Regions from separate parts of the Homo sapiens genome. Here region 1 is linked to region 2. Evidence: promoter capture Hi-C in 16 types of primary human blood cells and fetal thymus (Javierre and others, 2016). All regions are on one chromosome and are shown on one strand. The core of a region is centred on a gene start or on the middle of the fragment in contact, and the rest is flanking DNA. Distances in the headings are between cores, read along the strand shown. Region 1 overlaps NFASC (neurofascin). Region 2 holds the start of TMCC2-AS1 (TMCC2 antisense RNA 1).

Region 1 (6,769 bases), core at 1,025-3,524, 240 kb before region 2:
CACAATGAGCAGGTGCCAAGCAACGAAACTCGGGTTCCATGTTTCTGACGTGGGCCTGGCGTCCGGCCCACTGCTGTCTTCCCTCTCGTCCTCTCCAAACCTGGGCACTATTTCCCCAAACTGCCCTGTTCATCTCTCACCCAGTGAAGATAATCCCTCTCATCCACCTGTATCTGTAGTCTCTTAGGATTGCTGCCCGTCTGTCTGACAATCTGTGATTTGGCCGGGGTAGTCAACACGCCATGTGGACATTTTTGGACTAAACCTTCCACCTTGGAATGTAAGGAAGTGCTGTTCTCTTCTTTGACCCAGCTCAGGTCTGCAAATGTTTGGTGGGCTCTTGATAGGTGCCCTGTTCCGTGGCAGGTTCTGGGACAGAAAGATGAATGACACATGTCATCTCTCCTCAGTGTTCTCCATCTCATGCATGGTGCTCCCTGAAACCCACCTGGAAAACCCTTGGCCGCAGCCAGGGTGCCTTCCAGTGTGCATTAGGTCACAAACCTGTGAGGTTGACGCTGCCATCTAGGAAGGGCCTTGTGCTTCCAGCCGAAGCCCACTCAGGATCCCCCCTTAGCTAACAGAGAGTCTCTGCCCGCTGTCCTTGGTCGCCAGGCTGATGGTCTCCACTGAGCACTGGCCAGGATTGCTTCCAAACCTGTAGCTCCTATTGCGGCAGGAAATGACATCCTAGCCCAGTCATGTGTCTGCCCAGCCTGGTGCTGCTCTGTTGGTAAGCCCTACTTCTCAGCTTCGTTGCTCTTCTATCCTCTCCTCCACCTCAGCCCCAGGGGATGAAATAATCTGAATCTCCTTAGACCTGAGCAGTGGAAGGTTTTCCCCATGGAACACTTGTCCTCCTCTCGTTCCCACCTGTACTAGCCCCCTGACAGCTCACTGCCTGACTCTTCTGCACCTTCCCTCGGAGGCTTTTCTTCTTTCCTCCACCCTCCCTAGCTCTCTGGAGGCCCTGTCTTGCCTTGGGACAATAGACACAGCTAATGAGTGGGTCGGAGATGTGCCAGCAGTGACCTTAGCCAGCTGAGGTTGTATCCTCTATGGTAACTTCAATGGTGGGAGCCCCGGGGAGGCTGCCGGAAAGTGACCCCTTTCCTCTCTCTCATCTCTTGCTCCCTCTTACTAAGCCTGAGCCAGACAGGAAGCAGCTAGGTAGCCATCATCAGAGAAAAATGCTTCCTTTCTGCCACACTTGGCAGAAGTGGCCATCAGGGGAGGGGACAATGCAGTGTAGAAACATCTTCAGAGCCATCTCTCATCCTTACCTCTGCCCAGCAGGGCCGGTGAGGAAAATGCTGTCACCTGGGCTCTCTTGACACCTCTGTCCCCCAGCTACTCACTGGAACATCCTGGGAAGTGTGTGCCCCCAGCTATGGCCCTGTTGGGGTATGAGTGTGTGTGTGTCTCTGCGAGTCTGAGGGCCACATGAGAGAGTGTAAAGCTTTGGGGAAGACTGACTTGGATTCTGGGGCCTGGGAAATGTAGCACCACTGCACCTGTAGGAAGGGAGGCCCAGGCTCCTGCACTACGCGGTGTGATGATTCAGGTTAAAAGGGAGTGTTTGCTTTTTTGTTTTGTTTTGTTTACTTGAGGCAGAGTCTCGCTCTGTCGCCCAGGCTAGAGTGCAGTGGCTTGATCTCGGCTCACTGCAACCTCCTCCAAAGGGAGTGTTTTCTAATGATGCCTTTTAGATAGTCATGAGAAGGGCTACCTTGTAAGCATTTGATTTGTCAGAAATTATTAGAAAATATACTATTGATAAGGAACTCCGGCAGGTGCACACTTTGGGAGGCTGAGGCTAGAGAATTGCTTGAGCCTGGGAGTTCAAGACCAGCCTGGGTTCCATGACAAAACCCCATCTCTACAAGAAATACACAAATTAGCCAAGCATGGTGGACCTGTAGCTGGACCTATAGTCCCAGCTACTCAGGAGGCTGAGGTGGGAGGATTGCTTGAGCCTGGGAGGTCGAGGCTACAGTAAGCCATGATCACACCACTACACTCCAGCCTGGGTGACAGAGCAAGATCCCGTCTCAATTAAAATAAAAAAAATCAGAGCAGTCCTGCCCAAGTAGACAAAATAATTGCTCCAGGTCTGTGCCAGCAGCACAGAGCAGCGGAAAGAGCCCATGTGTGTCTATGGCCATGAGAGCTGCAGGGAGCAGGCCTGGGAGAGAACTGACCTTTGCCCCATGGGTCTCTCAGGCTTTCCCATGTATGATGTGTGCACAGTGTGTGTGTGTGTGTGTGTGTGTGTGTGTGTGTGTGTATGTGTGTCGGTGGGTGGGGATAAGTGAATTCCCTCTTGTTGAGTGTTTTTAGTGCTGAGATTATATTCCAGGCCTGAGGCCATCCTGGACTGAGCACAGCCCTAAATAAAGAATCTGAGAGGGAGAGTTGCCCCACCGCTCACCCCTCCGCACGCCGCCCTGATGTCTGTGGGTTGACCGGGGTTTGGGGAGTATAGCATTGTGAGCTTTGAGCCTGCCCAGGAACCTCTGGAACGTATGGGGCATAGTCAGCTGCCCAGTGTGACTTCGGTGGCCAGCACCCTCGGGGCACAGTAGTACCTCTGATCTTATTAGCAGGGAAGCAGGAGTATTCCCTCCTTCTCCAAAGAGGGACTTGTAATTTTGGAGACCCAAGGGAATGAAAGGGCTTTTGCTGGGCAGGCTCTGGCTGAGAAGGCTTAGGATCACTTCACTCTCCCTTAAAAAAAGCTCTCTGGCAATTCTTTCTCTGGCATCCCTCCCTGCCCTAGCCCCTTTCTCGGGGATATTATTTTCCTGAGAGATTTGAGGCTGGGTAGGATTCCTTGGGAGTGAGAGTTAGCTGCCTGTGTTTTAAAGTCCCTGCCTACTGCCCCATTAGCGTCAACACTAGAAAGTGGAGTGCTGTCAGATCACAGGAGATCCAGTGCAAGGAGGAGAGGGGGCTTTGTCTCTCTCTGCTTGGCCTCATTCTCATACTCTCAGCTTTAGCAAATATTAGATCTGCGGGTAAGGATAGGGCAGCCCTTTCCATGACCTTCTATATCAGGAAAGAAGACCTGTGAAAAAGTTGTCACATACATAAGCTTAGCCCTCCCAAGCTGACCAACATCCAAGGATAGCTTTGGGTGGGAGATGGGTGTCATGAGAGGGTTAGCCCAGATCTGAACAATTCTGTGCCCCATGAAGATTTATGCAGAAAAGAAGCCCAGCATGCGCCTCACTCTGCCTGGGACTCCTCTGTCTGCTGTGGGCTGGGAAGGTGGTGCTGCTGAGTGCGGGTTATTCCATTAGCTCCCTCTTCCCATGTTCTCATGTGAATAGAAAGCACCTGGGGTACCTGGACCCAAAGTTCCTAGAGAGAAAGGCAGTTATAAGAAGTGTCACTTTGGATTAGGGTGGTTGCAGGAAGGGCTACCACTGAGCAGAGAAGGGAAAGAGAGGGAGGAGAGGCAGGGGAATGACCGAGGAGAGCCAAGACCGGAGGAGGGCGAGGGCAGGCAGAACGCCGTGCAAGGCTCACCCGCGCAGAGTGGAGATTGTTCCCTCTCTGTCATCGGGTTTGGGTGGCTGTTTGGGCTCATGCAGGCATGACAAAGGGTGATTTTGGAGTGATTGGTTGGGAATGGCAGGCCACTCTAGGCCTCTGCTGGACAGGGCCCCACCGCCTGCCCACCTCTAGGCTGGGGCTCCAGGGCTGGACCCAACTGGTGCTGCTTGGGCCTGTGTCTGGGTGGCATCTGGCCAGTGTTTGGCCTGGGGCTCCATGCCATCCCTGGGGTCTGAGCGATTCAGCCCGTGCCCCCTTCCCGTCTCATCCTCACGCATCCTTGGCTGGGTGCATGCTGGGTGTTTCGAGCCACGCAGACCATGAGAAGAAAATGAAACACACACAGGGCTTCATTCTCTTCCTCTCCCATGGTTGTGTCTTCTGTTGCTGCGACCCGTCTGACCCAGTCCGTTATGCTTGGGGAGGCTCCTGATGACTAAGCCCCGTCTCCTCACCGGGCTGCCTGCCTTGCACGCGGGGGCCGTGTGTCCAGGCTGGGCACAGCCAAACCAACCAGACTCGGCTGTTTTACATTTCCCTCTCAGCTCCTCCCACATTGCCCCCGACTACCGTGGGTGCGACGGGCGCTGTGAGCAGTACCGATGCTACTGCCATTGCTGCCACCACCGAAGCCACAACAGTCCCCATCATCCCAACTGTCGCACCTACCACCATCGCCACCACCACCACCGTCGCCACAACTACTACAACCACTGCTGCCGCCACCACCACCACGGAGAGTCCTCCCACCACCACCTCCGGGACTAAGATACACGAATCCGGTACTGCGCATCGCCCATGCTCCCCATCCCCTCCTGGCCCGCCTCCCCAGCGGCCTCCAGACGAACCCACAGGCTCCCCCAGCGAGGAGGTGGGGTCTGGGGTGGTGTTTGCCACCACCTCCCTTTGTGTTTCCTTTGGAAACTCACCCGTGACTGGATGCTCAGTCCCGTAGCCTGGAGGCCCAGATCTCCCCAGCCTGGCCCTGACACACACACACTCCTTGGGTGGTCCTCCACCACTCAGTACCCCAAATTCTAGCTTCAGATCCCTGTTCCTTAACAGACGGCCAAGCTCCTTGGGCAGGGCCCCCAGGTTCCAGATGTTAGGACCGCCTCCAGCTACATGTCAGGCAGTCAGCTCAGAGCCGAGCACTCCAGAAGGAAGACAGCGTGAGGAGGGGAAAAGGACCAGATACTGTACAGCTGGCCTGAGGGAGTTTCCTGCCCTGGCCACGTCTGCGTCCGGCCTAGAGGCTGAGCAGCAGGGAGTGGCTGTGCCAGGCAGCTCTGTTCCCAGAACCCCTGTCCCTTCCTTGCCTCTCCTTCCGCGAGGAACACTTACAGACTTTTCTTTTACAAAGTCAGAGCTTCCAGGAAACTGTATTGCCAAGGAGGCCCTTAATGCCAAACTCACATTCCCCAAGCCCTCAAATGCAGGCATGGAGGGAAAATTACGGGCATTCTCAGAGCCCCTGGTAAGAATCGATCCCAGGGCTGGTACGCTGAGCCACGAGAATGCACTGTTCCTGTATCATGCAGCCAGGCCAGGAAGCTCTGTTCTTCCAGTTCGGGGAGACCCCAGGGGAATTCAGCGATACTTCCAAGCACTGAGCATCAGTCTTTTATTACCAACAAGGGGAAGGTCTGTAGCTTCCTGAGCTCACAGGCCAGCTATAAAATCAGCGTGAGGCAGCCAGGAAGCACCCAGAACTCTTCTGCCACAGTTGTAGAATTGTAGGACCCAGTGGGCACCACCTTTGTCTCCTGGGCAAGTCCCTTTACCTTCCAAGGCCTCCTTTCTCCCACCCTGCTCCACTTTTCTCAGCCTCCTGAATGAGGATGGAGGCTTAATAGACATGAGAGGATTTTGTTTTCAGTTCAATGACATAGAGTTAAGTGAGCTGTCAGGGAAGACGAGAGGCATAGCTGCTGTGAGCTCCTGAGACCCTGAAAATGCTGGTTTGCTTCACAGGTGCCATCTAGAACTTAACAGGCACTTTCGGAAAAAGTTGGCTGAGGAGGAACCTGCTGGGGTATTAGAAGCTGCCACCAGCGGGTTGGTGATTGATGTTCTTTGGGGCCACGGTGAGGCATCTTTTTCATTAAAAAGTGGGGCTTTGTGTCCTACAAGTGCTTTGAGTTCAGAGAAAAGATGAACCAAAAATGAAGAAAGGAAGTGGCTCTTGCTTCCCCAGCAAAGAGTTACTTGCCTTCTGAAACACAGGCCTTGTTGCCACATAGGACCAGCCCCTCCAGAGTCTCACTCCTCAAGTTCTGTGAGACGCTGCAGAGGACCTGGCCATGGCCTTGATCTTATCTAGACCTTGGGAACACCCCTCAACCATCCTCACCTCACTTCAGCAGAATGGCTGTCTAGGACTTTAAAAATGAATGTTCACCTTTATCGTGCCTTACATCTTGGAAAAAGATGTTTCATAAGTTTACTCTTCTCAGGGTGAAATAGGCCTTTTTATTTGTCCTTCGCCTGTCTTTTTCAGATTTCCAGGGAGATTCCTTAATTCTTACATTCCAGGAGTCAGTGAGACAATCTATGCTTCCCCTCCCTGACCCTTTTTGTGTTTCTCGGTGTTGATATTTCACATGCTTGGTCCTTCTCTTTGAACTTTTTAGTGCTTCCGGGTCATCATCCTGATCTCTCTGTGGCAATGCCTTCCTCCAGCTCCCACCTCTAAATCATCTTGGCTTCCCACTGCCTGGCCTTTTCTAAAAGAACCCCAATCTTCATTGCCTTTAAAACAGCCAGATTTGAGTCAATTTCATATTGGTGGCCAGACTGTTTAAACACAAATTCTCTAGCTATTTACAGGGCTCAGAGCTGAGGAGGAAGAAACTCAAGTCCCCAAATAATGACTAATCACAATTCATTCTCACCAGCAAGAGCCATGAAATTCTAAGGAGCTGGAATTTGGGATGGCTTCAAGTGGCCAGTACAATTGAAGCGTCTGGCAGACAGGCAAAGAAGCCTACCTTCTCCCCTCCCCACGGTGCCATCAATGGAATCACTTTCTTGGTCCCTCACTTAATATGAATCATATTCACCTGGGGCAACCAACGCCTGACAGAGTTGTAGTGCAGAAGGCACCTCTTTGAAGTGAAAACCAGGAGATCTTTTATCACTTCCCCAGCCCTGCAGGCTCAGTCACATGTCAAATAGATAATGAATAAATGCATCGCCAATGCACTCTATT
Region 2 (6,074 bases), core at 3,168-5,667:
GCAGTGAGCCATGATCATGCCATTGCACTCCAGCCTGGGCTACAGAGCAAGACCCTATCTCAAAAAAAAAAAAAAAAAAAAAAAAAACACAAAAAAACACACACACAAAAAACAACAACCGAAAAAAAAAAAAAAAACCACAACGTGTGGTAGATACTTCTGAGGCCCAGGATGAGTGGCCAAGCATAAGAGTGAGCTGGTTCTATCCTGATATGTGATGGAAGTCTGAAGGCACGGGAGGAAATTACCAACCTCCCCACCTCTCTCACAGTGGGAAGAATTGAGTCTTTCCTGAAAGGAGGTGTCTGGGGATGCTGGCCATGGGCTTTCCCCCTGGACTTCCCCTAAGGTTCTCTTTCCTCTCACAAAAGCCCCTTTAAGTAATTTCCCTGGAGATTTCTGAGCAGTATTAATATATTTCCCTGAAGAAAAAGGGGGAGCTCCAAATTCCATCATTCCCCTCCTGGTTTGAAGCACTTTTGACTCAAGACTCATTTGGGTTCCAGTTCATGTTCCAGTCACACCATACACTGGTCTTCCTGCCTACTTAGTGAAGAGCAGGAAAGATAATTCGAAGCCAGATATCTGAGAGAAAGTCACAACTGAGTCCTGTGTGGTTCTCCCTGCTGGCTCTCCGCCTTTCCTGGTGGTCACAGGCAGCTTCCTCCCACTGTGAGTGGCGTGTGTTCCTTCACCACTCCTGCAGAGAGCCCACTAGAGAAGGGTTCATGCAGTCAGCAGATACCACCTTCAGCAGGAAAGGTGCTGCTGAATTAAATTGTGAAACATGCTTATAAAAGTGCCTGAAAACATGTACGCAGTTTAAATAACAGAAGCAAAGCAGACACCTCATCTACCCAAGTCAAGGAAAAAAAAAAACTGACATTCCCGAGAAGCACCTGCTTGTTTTCTATTTGTTTATTTCTTATATATATATTTTTTCAAGGCTCAGGGTTTTGATAAAATTTATAGGTCTCAGTTTCTCCTTTTTTTTTTAAAGGGTAGTCAAATGAAGCAGTGAGAGTGGAGAGTTTCTTCATTTTTTAAATGAAGGAGAAGACAAGCTACTTCATAAGAACGTAGGTGGAATGAAGATATGTACGTTCCCTGGGGCTCTCCAGGAGTGTTGTGATGGTTGCGATGGCTCTCTGAGGGCCTGCTGCATCTTGAGGCCCAGTAGATATGTTAAGGCTTGAAGATTCCTGCAATCTCAGGTGGGAGCCGGACGCCTGGGATAAGTTTTATCAGAGGAGGTAGAATTGAAGTATACCTAAAAACAAGGACATGGGAGGCCAGGCGTGGTGGCTCACACCTGTAATCCTAGCACTTTGGGAGGCCGAGATGGGTGGATCATGAGGTCAGGAGATCAAGACCATCCTGGCTAACACAGTGAAACCCCATCTCTACCAAAAATACAGAAAAATTAGCCAGGCATGGTGGCGGGCACCTGTAGTCCCAGCTACTCTGGAGGCTGAGGCAGGAGAATTGCTTGAACCTGGGAGGCGGAGGTTGCAGTGAGCCGAGATCGTGCCACTGCACTCCAGCCTGGGCGACAGAGCGAGACTCTGTCTCAAAAATAAAAAACAAAACAAACAAACAAAAAGGAAATGGGAAATTAGTTATTTGGCCTCACCTCCAGCTGATCTCCAGGTCAAATAGGATGAAATACTTCTAAGAAAACCATCATGGAAATACATAGAAGTTAAAGGGTACTTAGAGCATCATGCAGTGCAATCAGAAACTTATGGGGGTTAATCAGGAAAGTTGTTCTGCAAGAGGTGGGTTTAGAGCAAGATTTTTTTTTTTGAGATGGAATCTCATTCTGTCTCAGGCTGGAGTGCAGTGGCGCAATCTTGGCTCACTGCAGCTTCTGCCTCCCGGGTTCAAGCGGTTCTCCTGTCTCAACCTCCCGAGTAGCTGGGACTATAGGCATGCACCACCAGACCGGGCTAATTTTCTATTTTGAGTAGAGATGGGGTTTCATCATGTTTGCCAGGCTGGTCTGAAACTCCTGACCTCAGGTGATCCACTCTCCTCGGCCTCCCAAAGTGCTGGGATTATAAGCGTGAGCCACTGCGCACGGCCTAGAGCAAGATTTTAAAGAAGGGGTGGGACATTTATTACCAAACAAGAGAAGAGGGGCTTTCTAAATGGGGGAAGTGAGGTAGCAAGTGCTTTTGTAGGGTCTTTGCCCTGTTTGACTAGAATGATCAGGAACAATGGAGGGTAGTGCAAATGCTGAAGTTAACTGTTTTGTCCCGCTTGCACCTTATATGAAGCAGGCAGAGGGTTGGAAGGCCCAGGATTGCCTCCCCCCCACCCCCTCCAGCCTAGGTAATATTCAGAGCAGCCCTCTATGTGGGCTCTGGGGGAACTGGTGACCGATGGGAAAGCATGTGGCAAACGAAACTCCCTGTTCTCCTGCCACATATTGAGTTCTAGATTAATTCCCAGCTGCCCTAGTTGTTCTAGTGGGAACTGTCTGGCAGGCTCAGTATTTACAGAATGTGCTTCTTTTTGTGTATCTAATTATGTCTTCACTGCCAATCCCATTAACAAGAATCTCCTTCAGCAAGGAGTTGAAATATCTGATAGGACCTAAATTTTGGGCTGAAGTTTTCAAAGTGTGGGGTTATCAGGAGCTGGGGAAAAGGGCTCAGGCAGCTTCTCAGTGGTGGTCTTAAAGGCCAACTCAGAACTCATTTCTGTTTTCATCTCTCCCTTAAGAAATGGCATCTGCCTTTGAAATCCCCATAGACTACTAGCATGCTACATTTTTGGAATGAGGCCATAGCTGGACAGGGTCCACCTTTGTCAGCCAAACACTTAAGTCTCTCTTCGTGTAAGAAGTTAGAACAAAGCTGTTGGGGGATAACAGGTATGTTTTGTGACTGTGCTAGAAAAACAGTTATTTGGCTGGGCGCGGTGGCTCACGCCTGTAATCCCAGCACTTTGGGAGGCCGAGGCAGGGGGGTCACGAGGTCAGGAGTTCGAGACCAGCCTGGCCAGCATGGTGAAACCCCGTCTCTACTAAAAATACAAAAAATTAGCCAGGCATGGTGGTGTGCCCGTATAGTCCTAGCTGCTCGGGAGGCTGAGGCAGGAGATTTGCTTGAACCCGGCAGGCAAAGGTTGCAGTGAACGGAGATCACGCCATTACACTCCAGCCTAGGCGACACAGCAGGACTCTGTCTCAAAAAAAAAAAAAAAAAAAGAACAGTTATTTTTAAACCAAATGACTAAAGGCTTCCTTATTCCAGCCAGGTTAACTGAGTGATGTCCACCAGGGAAAACAAATCTGGCTGTAAGGACATGAGCCCCCTCCCAAGCCCTCCCTAAGCCATTTGTGAAGACATCACATACATTCTGGCTCCTTGGTCTGTGTTCATCTCCTTCCAAGCCAACTCAATCTTGGCGGTTACTAAGATAATAGAGTGAGAAGAGGGTTTAAACTGCAGCAGGAGAAATCTGAGTTAGACACAAGAAAAGGCTGTTGGAGCATTTGAAATCTTTGTGAAAGGTTATGTCTTTGGAAAAGGTAGTCATCTAAGGATTAAAATCACCTTTGTAAGATGGATTTGTAGAGACTTGGATAGTGGCTGCTCAGAAAATAAATGAACAAATAATTTACCTAGCTGTCTTCCATGTTGGTGTTGAGGCCTCTGCCAGGTAATGTTAGGGACACAGAGATGTAGGAGCTGTAGCTCCTGCTGTCCAGTCACTCATATTGTCATCAAGGGTTCCATCCGTCAGCAGGTGAGAAGTTGGATAACAGTCAGACAAAGCACTAGAAGCGATGTCACAAGGCAGTACACGATTAATTGCAAAATGAGTGGTGCAGATAATGAGCGCTTATGTGTTCAGAGCAGGGCGAGATCGCTGCAGACTGGTGTGATCAGAGAGGGCTTTATGGAGTGGCGAGGTGGTGAAGGATGGGTAGGATGCAAAGAGGCAGAGAGAGGGCACGCCATGCTGGGAACTTTAATAAAAGTCTTCTATGTTGGTGTGTGCTGAATCAGTTCTGCCTAAAGACATGGTGGATGAGGTGACCTTTTCCCACTTGCTTTGGCTCCAGGCTGAATTCTCTAAGCAATAAAGGAAAGAGGAATCAAAATAAAATTGAGAATGGGGGAATTTTTTGCCCGTGTGCCCATGAGTTGAGTTTTTTTTTTAAAATTTCATCTGTGAGGCTGGGGAATAAATAAATGATTCCAAAAATCTTTCATCACTGGGTTTCCAGTAGAAACTCCAAGTGGGCCTGAACAGTTGCAGCTGCCTACTGTACACCACTGTGATCATCAGCGCCAAACCTGGGGTAATGGTTCCTCTCCTGCTCCCACTCAGGCTCCCCACCCAGAGCTTCTTAAGGGCAATTGGAGACTTCTTCAATCCACTTTGGATCCTAAGAGTAGAACTCTGTGGGTTTTTACAGTGATTAGTTCTCTAATGCTGGCCCTGTTTCCATAGAGACCCTATAAATAGAGGAATGTTGGCGACCTAGGCTGGCAAAGGCTCAGGGTGACCCAGTCACCCCACTGAACCCTCACAGCCAAACTGTTGGTAGGGCGGAAGGAGTTTCAAACCCAGGTAGGAGGAAGGGCTATGCAGTCAGCTGCCAGGTGGGATAATTAGCTATAGATTAGTGTGACTTTAAGCTTTCCTGGGATTTGTTGAGAACACACGTACCTGTAAAAATTAGAAACCACTTTTGGTCATTTTTAACCAGATGGTGCCAATGACACTGTACCCCAAGGCATTTTAGTTTTGTATTCATGCAGCTGTGTTTGCAGATTTTGGAGCAAACTTCCCCTTTGGGGGACCCACACCCAGGGAGAAAGACGGATGAAGCCCAACTGTTCAGAAACCACAGCCTTCTCAGGAAGGATCTTTCAGAAGCCATCTAGTCCTCCCTTTTTTCCTGAAAGGACAGTGCCACCCAAGGAGATGGGGCTCTTCCTGCCCTTTCAGATAGTTCCAGGGGAGGGACAGCCAACTCCCCTCACTTCCTTCCCCGGGGCACCTCACCCTGGGAGGCTCTCCTTTCTGACTACCTTATGGCCAGTTCTGGGGACGGCACTTCTTGCTTCGGTCTTACAGATCATGAAAGCCCTGTTTGTTTGCCACCTCTAACTCTGAAGCATCTCAGCTCTCTAATGCATGGCTTCATTTGGCCACCAAAATGGTTTCTGGCAGCCAGGGAAAAGCAAAAGTCAATGTGGAAAAGCAAGTGACATTTTAGGAGCTGGAACCTGTTAGTCAGAGCAGGTGGTGCTTTCTGCTGCGTTGGCGGCTAAGTTCCCTTAAGCTAGTCACCATGGTTTTCCTCACTTCTGAAACTTGTAGCTGGTTATGTGTATGTGCTGAGTTTTTTTTTTTTAAAACACTTACTGTGTTATGTCAAAACTCCTTAACCATCTCCTCCCTGACACCCACATGCAGAAGCGGCCCAGCCCTTGCGTCACTTTGCTGTTCCCGCCTCGCACCTTATCAGTGAGGAAAAACCCCTTCATTTGGAGTAATCTCCTCTCTCTGCACCTTGTTCTTTGACTTCCTTTTTGTTATTTCCCTCCTGCCTGCCTCAGACTTTAATAGATTCCTCGGTCTGCTGGGACAAAGGTCCTGGGGTCTCCTGGTCACTTTCCCTAGGTTTCCTTCAGCTGCAGGACAGCTCAGGGAGGTGGGAAGTAAAGACTTTATAGTTGAGGGTCTTGTCCCATAACATGGGATGGGCAGGTCACAACAGCAGTTCAGGGGACCTAACAACCCTTGACCCAGGCATTTTTGTTTGGCGCCTGCCTCTGATACTATTCTGGGACACATGCAAATACCCTATCTACTTTAAATCTTAAGTCTTGAAATCAGTGTATGGGCCCATGAAGGTAAATTCAATTAGAAGTCGGGGGTTTCTCTGTGTGGCTTGGATGAGCCACTTAGCTATGCTGTGCCTCCGTTTCTTCATCTGCAAAATAGACACTGATGCTGTGACATCTCACATTCCTAGCTCCTGAGATTAGGCTAGTGTCAGATTATAATGACAGTATAAATCGGAACGCACTTTGCAAAATGCTGTTGTA

Evidence for each region. Contacts are between HindIII fragments. The CHiCAGO score rates a contact against its expected background, and 5 or more counts as called.
Region 1: a contact is called between a fragment that was not itself captured here and the fragment with the promoter of TMCC2-AS1 in region 2, in 2 of 17 cell types (endothelial precursors and megakaryocytes). The highest score is 5.6, in endothelial precursors.

Annotation. Positions count from the first base shown.
Region 1 is chr1:204,993,067-204,999,835 of GRCh38, forward strand. It overlaps NFASC (neurofascin), which reads left to right. Exons shown (of 30, transcript NM_001005388.3): 25 at 4,104-4,340. Among named protein-coding and RNA genes, the nearest start is that of CNTN2, 47 kb to the right of the region's middle. The HindIII fragment of the contact is 1,635 bases long and covers 1,458-3,092 here.
Region 2 is chr1:205,232,874-205,238,947 of GRCh38, forward strand. TMCC2-AS1 (TMCC2 antisense RNA 1) reads right to left here and starts at 4,418. Exons shown (of 3, transcript NR_183258.1): 1 at 4,311-4,418; 2 at 3,632-4,085; 3 at 904-1,270. The region is part of intron 1 of TMCC2 (transmembrane and coiled-coil domain family 2); the gene reads left to right. The HindIII fragment of the contact is 7,142 bases long and covers 1-4,653 here.